Regions from separate parts of the Homo sapiens genome. Here region 2 is linked to region 1. Evidence: promoter capture Hi-C in 16 types of primary human blood cells and fetal thymus (Javierre and others, 2016). All regions are on one chromosome and are shown on one strand. Each heading gives the region's core, a stretch centred on a gene start or on the middle of the fragment in contact. The rest is flanking DNA. Distances are from core to core; before and after follow the strand shown. Region 1 holds the start of DUSP1 (dual specificity phosphatase 1). Region 2 holds the start of LCP2 (lymphocyte cytosolic protein 2).

Region 1 (3,845 bases), core at 1-2,500:
CCGTCACTGGGACTCAGGGCACGGAGATCGCTGGGCGGGGCGGGGGTCTTCCCAAGTGTTGCGATCCAGGTCCTGGCAATCCGCCCACAATGGCCCGGGATTGGATTTTGCTTTCGGCCTATAACGGCCGCGACGACAGGGAGCGAGGGTTGTGGCCGGCTTCTGTTCCGGGTTGGAGGCCCCCAGCCCAGCGCTTAGTGGGCGCTCACTGTGTATACTGCCTATTTGTATAATAAAGAAAGGGATGGAGAAGCTCAGTCTGGAGCCAAGGTGACAGAAACGTGTCGGGCGGCCCCTGGGGGGCGCCGTCGAGTCGCGCTGCGGGTCGCCCCTCACCCCTCCAAACGCCAAACCCTGGAATCCACTGCGGGGCCTTGCGACCCCTCACCGGGATTTCAGCCCCCTGACCTGCCTCCCTTGGCTCCAAGTCTTCCGGGGGCCACAAGACTAGGAATAGCATTATTTCCCGGTGGGAGTTTGCTTGCTCACACTTTCATGGCAAATGTAGATATTTTAAAGCCACCTTAAAGAAAAGTCTGGGAAACAGGAAAGCATTGCCCTGAACCTCTCCGCCCCAACTCGCTCGAGTCGGTCTTGGTAGGGACGACTTTTCTATCGGCAGAGTTGTTCATTTTTCTCTAAACTTCATCTTAGGCGCCTATTTGCTGCCCCCACCCCAGTAGTGTGGTTCTGGGCAAGTCAGTCGCTTCGCCTGGGGAACCTCAGTTTCCCCGCCTGTTAGTGATGAGGAAATGAGGAAAAGGGGCACAAGAGTATGCAAAAGCACAGGAAGCCCCTTTCGGTTCAGGTCGGCGGCCGAGGGGCACGGGGAAGGGGACTCGGGGAGGGAGAGAGGGAGGAGCGGCGAGGCCAAGGCAGGTGGCACGTCGCCCGTTCTCCCGGCCGCTCGCATCCCGGAGGTCAGCCTCAGCTGGCAGCGAGCCCTCCTCCTCCCCGCTGGGCCTGGAGCGCGGCGCGGGTCCGGTCCCTGGGGACGCGCCAAGAGCAGGCCGGACAGCAGGGCGGGGGCCGGGCCGCGAGCCAGCGCGCGGCGAGCGGACCCAGCTCCGAGGCTGATGACGTCTCCCCCTCTGGCTCGGCGGCGCCTGGCCTGGCAGGGCGGGTGACGTCACCGCCCCGTCACGTGATCACCATTCAAACAAACACCCCCCCTCCCCCTGCGCGCGGGTCTGGCCCGCCCCGTCCCCCAGAGGCCGCATATAAACGCGCTCCCCGGGCCAGGCTCGCTGCGAAGGACATTTGGGCTGTGTGTGCGACGCGGGTCGGAGGGGCAGTCGGGGGAACCGCGAAGAAGCCGAGGAGCCCGGAGCCCCGCGTGACGCTCCTCTCTCAGTCCAAAAGCGGCTTTTGGTTCGGCGCAGAGAGACCCGGGGGTCTAGCTTTTCCTCGAAAAGCGCCGCCCTGCCCTTGGCCCCGAGAACAGACAAAGAGCACCGCAGGGCCGATCACGCTGGGGGCGCTGAGGCCGGCCATGGTCATGGAAGTGGGCACCCTGGACGCTGGAGGCCTGCGGGCGCTGCTGGGGGAGCGAGCGGCGCAATGCCTGCTGCTGGACTGCCGCTCCTTCTTCGCTTTCAACGCCGGCCACATCGCCGGCTCTGTCAACGTGCGCTTCAGCACCATCGTGCGGCGCCGGGCCAAGGGCGCCATGGGCCTGGAGCACATCGTGCCCAACGCCGAGCTCCGCGGCCGCCTGCTGGCCGGCGCCTACCACGCCGTGGTGTTGCTGGACGAGCGCAGCGCCGCCCTGGACGGCGCCAAGCGCGACGGCACCCTGGCCCTGGCGGCCGGCGCGCTCTGCCGCGAGGCGCGCGCCGCGCAAGTCTTCTTCCTCAAAGGTACGCCCTCGGGGAAGCTCGGGGCGGGCCGCACACCCCTGAGGTTTTGCCCGGTACCCCTGGCTCTCGGCTCCCGGGGGATCGCCCCACCTGCAGCGCGTGGGCGCTGGAGTACATTTATCTCTGGAACTTGTCATTGGCTTTGTTTGGCTCTGGAAACAAAGACTTGCCTGGGCCTTTCCGATGTAAACTTCCAGCCCTTGGTGGGTGGGGGAGTTGTATGAAGGTGCCGTGTCCCGGTGTCACTAATGGGGAAAAAAAATGTCTTTGTATTCCCAGGAGGATACGAAGCGTTTTCGGCTTCCTGCCCGGAGCTGTGCAGCAAACAGTCGACCCCCATGGGGCTCAGCCTTCCCCTGAGTACTAGCGTCCCTGACAGCGCGGAATCTGGGTGCAGTTCCTGCAGTACCCCACTCTACGATCAGGTTAGTAGGTGTCCCTGCCACAGGGAAGAAGTAAGAACTGGCAAAGGCATGGAAGAGTAGTGCCAGGGAGAATATAGAAAGTGACCTGCAGCATTATTTATAACGGAGGGGACACAGGGATATGATTTATTCCACAGTTAAGTGGTCTGACGGAGCCGAGTCTCCAATTGTAGGCTCTACGGAAATGAACTTGCTGGTCCTGCCCAGGCAAATGGGCTTAGTTCCCTATTTATTTATCCTCCAGCAACAGAACTGAGTTCACTCGGTATCTGAAATTGACTTTTCCAGCAGAAAGTTTTTGTGGGTATGGGCACTGGCCTTGGCTTTGAGCAAGCTTGATGAATGTTGGATATTTCTGGATTTCAGGGTGGCCCGGTGGAAATCCTGCCCTTTCTGTACCTGGGCAGTGCGTATCACGCTTCCCGCAAGGACATGCTGGATGCCTTGGGCATCACTGCCTTGATCAACGTCTCAGCCAATTGTCCCAACCATTTTGAGGGTCACTACCAGTACAAGAGCATCCCTGTGGAGGACAACCACAAGGCAGACATCAGCTCCTGGTTCAACGAGGCCATTGACTTCATAGGTAAATGGAATGGATGCCTGGGGCTTTTCTGCCTTTCTCTTCTCATTTTAGCCACTAAGCCCAACCTCTGTGGCAAGAGCTTGAAGTTTTCTGAGCCTTCTTCCACACATTCAGTATCAGTCTGGTGTGGGCAACATTCCTGTAAAATATGAATTTGATTCGATGTCCCACTTTACAGATTTGCAAAGTGGGGCTCACAAAGTTGAATTGACTGGTCTGAGATCTATCTGCTAAGTGGAAATCCCCAGTCTGAGTTTAAATCCTGTGCCATCCTTTGCACAGTGCCCACGTTGCCTCCATGAACAGTATCCATGTGATGGCATGTGGTGATGTTGACCATTTCTAGACAAGACACACATGACCTTTCTCAGATACACTGTACCTGGGCTTGGGGTGGTTCTCCTGAACTCTCAAGTAACCAGCCGCTCCTTTGGTTTTCCAGACTCCATCAAGAATGCTGGAGGAAGGGTGTTTGTCCACTGCCAGGCAGGCATTTCCCGGTCAGCCACCATCTGCCTTGCTTACCTTATGAGGACTAATCGAGTCAAGCTGGACGAGGCCTTTGAGTTTGTGAAGCAGAGGCGAAGCATCATCTCTCCCAACTTCAGCTTCATGGGCCAGCTGCTGCAGTTTGAGTCCCAGGTGCTGGCTCCGCACTGTTCGGCAGAGGCTGGGAGCCCCGCCATGGCTGTGCTCGACCGAGGCACCTCCACCACCACCGTGTTCAACTTCCCCGTCTCCATCCCTGTCCACTCCACGAACAGTGCGCTGAGCTACCTTCAGAGCCCCATTACGACCTCTCCCAGCTGCTGAAAGGCCACGGGAGGTGAGGCTCTTCACATCCCATTGGGACTCCATGCTCCTTGAGAGGAGAAATGCAATAACTCTGGGAGGGGCTCGAGAGGGCTGGTCCTTATTTATTTAACTTCACCCGAGTTCCTCTGGGTTTCTAAGCAGTTATGGTGATGACTTAGC
Region 2 (3,845 bases), core at 492-2,991, 2.5 Mb after region 1:
CTCACCCGTGATGGAGCTTTTGTACAGCAGAGCTGTGCTTTATACAGAATGATCAGCTACAAAGAGCTCTTAGGTGCGGCCCAGGCACAATGGCTCACGCCTGTAATCCCAACACTTTGGAAGGCCTAGGCGGGCAGATCACCTGAGGTTGGGAGTTCCAGGCCAGCCTGGCCAACAGGGATAAACCCCGTCTTTACTAAAAATACAAAATTAGCTGGGCGTGGTGGTGCATGCCTGTAATCCCAGCTACTCGGGAGGCTGAGGAAAGAGAATCGCTTGAACCTGGGAGGCAGCGGAGGTTGCAGTGAGCCGAGATGGCACCATTGCACTCCAGCCCGGGCAACAAGAGCGAAACTCCGTCTCAATAAAAAAAAAAAAAAAAAAAGAAAGAAAGAAAGAAAGAGAGAAAAGAAAAGAGTTCTTAGGTGTGAGGCCCTGCAAGGAGCAAATGGCCTGGGCTACCTTCACTGATGCCCTCAGCACCTTCTAAGGTGAGGCTAACACCAGCTCACATTGATGAGCTAGTGCTGGGCCTGGAGCAAAATGTGTATTTCATTTAAGCTGCCCACCAGCTTGTGAGGCAGGTGCATTACCGTGACGGCGGGGCTCCTCAGAGTGTGTATAAGAAGAAAACTGTGCATGGCCAAAGCTATGCTTGAAAACCCTCAGGAAGGCACCACCTCAAGGACCAACATAGCATCACTTAGTAAAGGCAACAGCCTTGGAACAGATGACTCGTGTGTGTGTGTGTGTGTGTGTGTGTGTGTGTGTGGCATTAGATGAAGTAGTAACTTGTGTTTAGAGGTTGCCTTATTGCACAAATATAGTTGCTTTTATACACTGGACTCACCCTCTGCCAATAAGTTGTTCAGTTATGAGAAATGAACAATGTCTGAAACTAAGAAAACAGCAAATTCTCACCTCCTATCTCCAGGGAATGTGCTCTTTGGCTAGAATATATGGCAGAATCAATAGTGAATAAAATATATTGTGGAAACAATAGTGAATGGAATATATGACACTACCAATAGCAATTGTTAAGTTTTTTTTCTTTTTAATTTTTCTTTTTAGGTTTGTCTAGTTGAATGCATCTAAGTTTTATGTGCATATGAAGAATCACTGTTTTCCTATTATACAGATTTGGAAACTGAGATTCCCAGCTTTTAACTCCTTGCCTAAGGTTGCATAGCACAGAAATAGTCATATCAGAAACTGAGCCCTGTCTGCACAGTGTAGCACCTTGTTCAGCCCTGGGTGCCTGACTCACTCACTCCTTGAGGACCCTCTCATGACAACTGTAAAGAGGCAGCTGAAAGAATCCCAGTCTTTGATGGTGGGAGGGGAAAGTGGTTGGAAAGCATTAAAAAAACATGCTCCAGCAGTTCACTGATGTGGGAAATTGTCTGTATTTCAGGTCAACCGTCAGGATAGATTTTGGTCTGCAAAGCCCCAGCTGAGCAAGAATGCAGTGTAGACATATGGGTGCCCAGAGTTTAAAGGAAAATTACTCAGACTCACATTGGAGTTTAAGACCCCTTCATTGCCTCTCCTACTGGGTTGGGGTGACTGGAGCCAGTGGGGAATTACCAACCCTGTGGCTCTCTCTGCATCTCAAGCCTCCAGAGCTGGGCTTCCTTGTTTACTTATTTAGAGCCCAGCAGAGGAAGTGGTAAAGGAAACTAGCTGAGTCGTTTTCTGAGAAGAGACCATATTTGTTCGCAGAGGAAGCCGTTGCTTTCTGGGATCTGGCTACGCCAGAAAAGACATCGGCTCCAACAGGGGTGTTCCACAGGGTAGCTGGGAGTTGGAAGAGCCAAGAACGCCTCCGAGCTCTGGATTTGAGCTTCTCTGCCCATGGGTGAAGCGCCCATGCTCAGCTTGTGAGCTTCTTCCCGGGAGAGCAGCCATGGCACTGAGGAATGTGCCCTTTCGCTCAGAGGTCCTGGGCTGGGACCCCGACAGCCTTGCTGACTATTTCAAGAAGGTAAGCCTTGCTCTTGTGTGAATGGTCATGATGCTAGTGCCCTTGGTGGGCTGAGCTGAGGCTTGACGATGGAATTGGGGCAGAATGTGGGAGGTGTATAAGATAGCAATGGAACCCTATGGCAACTTTACTGGTTGAGTGAGCGCCATATAGACCGCTGAGTTTTCCTGACCATGAGTTCCGGAGAGAAGGATGGGAGCAGAAGCCCTCAAATGAGTATGTGCCTATTATGTGCTAGGGTTTGAATTCGGTGTCTCACAGGCACTGTCCCATTTAGCGCTCCCTACTATGTTGTGAGGTCAGCATTGTTATCCCCTTGACTCAGCTGCAAAATCAGCTCAGGGAAGTGAAATGGTCCGAAGCCCTAGGGACTACATGTGATAGAGGCAAGACTCAAGCCACACCTATCTGGTTTTAAAGTCCATGCTCTGAGATGCAGAGAACTGTTGTAACTGCTAATGAGATCAACGCTACTTACTAGAAAGGGGAGACGTGGTGTCCTGGAGGCAGGAGAAAGAATAGGCAGGGTGGGAGGGCTGGATAGAGGACTATGATGAGCAGTGCCAGACACAGCATTTGGGCTTTCACTGCTCACGACCCTAAGGGGGGTCCTCAAGCTCCCGCCTGGGGCAGTCTCCTTGGAGCCTTATGAGAGTCTTGTGAAGCAGGACAGAAAACTGATGTGAGCCCCAATTTATAGCTATGAAAACTGAGGCCCCTAGAGGAAAAGAGGCTTGTGGCGGTGCTGGGACCAGAGCGTTGCTGTCTTATCTTCTGGACTTAGAGGAAAGGTTGAAGGATCCCTGTGCTTGGTCATTGGCAGAAGGGGACAACGCATCTGCTTGGGCAGATCTCAAGCCACATGACTTAGTTATAGTCCCTCTACCCTGACCATGTGGTAAGATGACTTGTGCGAGACGGTTAAGCTTCTAACACCCTCATCCCTGCAGGCTGGCATCGGATTCTGTTGATATTCCAGACTGTCATAAAGATGAGATTGTAAAGCTAAGATGGTAGAAGTCATCTAATTCAGCTTCGTGTTTTTCCTGGGGAAATTGAGATTCAAGAGGGTAGACGAGGTTCCCTAGGACGTATAGCCAAACCTGGGGTCTATGCATTTCCGAGGCATTTATAGTCACAGCTGTTCTCCCCCAACCTGAAGAAGAAAATGAGAACATGTTGAACTAGGTGTGGTATGGTAGGGGTACAGTTCACAGATCCTGTTTTTTGCCATATTTTGTGCTTTCATTTCTGTTATTTTCCTTCTGCAAGGTCATAATAAACTTAGATTTCAGCAAATATTGTTGCGCAACTGGTTTTTTGAAGGATGTTTCTAAATATCTTGCTCAAATATAGACCAAATAAGATAGGGCAACAAGGTAAAATTTGCCAAGAGGGAATAAAGTGGCATGTTACCTTGATAAGGGAAAAAGAAAGGAATTGAGAATTATGAAGAGAAAGACTTGGGACGGGCTGAGAGGCACAGATAGGCCTAACATTCAGGTGTGACCAGGAGAATTATACAATCCAATTGAGCAACAGAGAATTGATCCCTAAAACTCCCATCAGTACAGGGAGATGGACCACGGGTCAGGGATGGTACAGGAAGACCTCACTGCCTGAGCTGGGGGAAGGGAGAGTTTTCTTCCTGGAGATCTCAGACCCCAGGACAAATCTACAGCACCCAGGCAGGTTCCTTCTTCTGCCATAAATGGACTGAGGGAAGAAACTAGGAGACTGAGGCAAATCTGTGATCCTGGAAGTTCTAGTCCCTCCACAGACTTGGATAGAAACCCTTCAGATTCTGAGTACCTCAGCCCCCTGAAAGAAACTACCAAACGAATGGACCGCAGAGTCATTT

Evidence for each region. Contacts are between HindIII fragments. The CHiCAGO score rates a contact against its expected background, and 5 or more counts as called.
Region 2: the fragment with the promoter of LCP2 here is called in contact with the fragment with the promoter of DUSP1 in region 1 in 2 of 17 cell types (activated CD4 T cells and non-activated CD4 T cells); the score reaches 7.8 in activated CD4 T cells.

What each region holds. Positions count from the first base shown.
Region 1 is chr5:172,768,600-172,772,444 of GRCh38, reverse strand. DUSP1 (dual specificity phosphatase 1) reads left to right here and starts at 1,250. Exons shown (of 4, transcript NM_004417.4): 1 at 1,250-1,859; 2 at 2,139-2,284; 3 at 2,651-2,870; 4 at 3,313-3,845. The coding sequence starts at 1,493. The coding sequence ends at 3,683. It overlaps LOC105377730 (a long non-coding RNA gene), which reads right to left and starts at 234. Exons shown (of 3, transcript NR_188285.1): 1 at 1-234. RefSeq lists enhancers at 1-202, 1-239, 1-775, 240-1,001, 1,423-1,692 and 1 more and silencers at 803-1,252, 1,793-1,902. The HindIII fragment of the contact is 7,766 bases long and covers 1-2,620 here.
Region 2 is chr5:170,295,673-170,299,517 of GRCh38, reverse strand. LCP2 (lymphocyte cytosolic protein 2) reads left to right here and starts at 1,741. Exons shown (of 21, transcript NM_005565.5): 1 at 1,741-1,984. The coding sequence starts at 1,907. RefSeq lists an enhancer at 2,559-2,638. The HindIII fragment of the contact is 7,744 bases long and covers 1-2,912 here.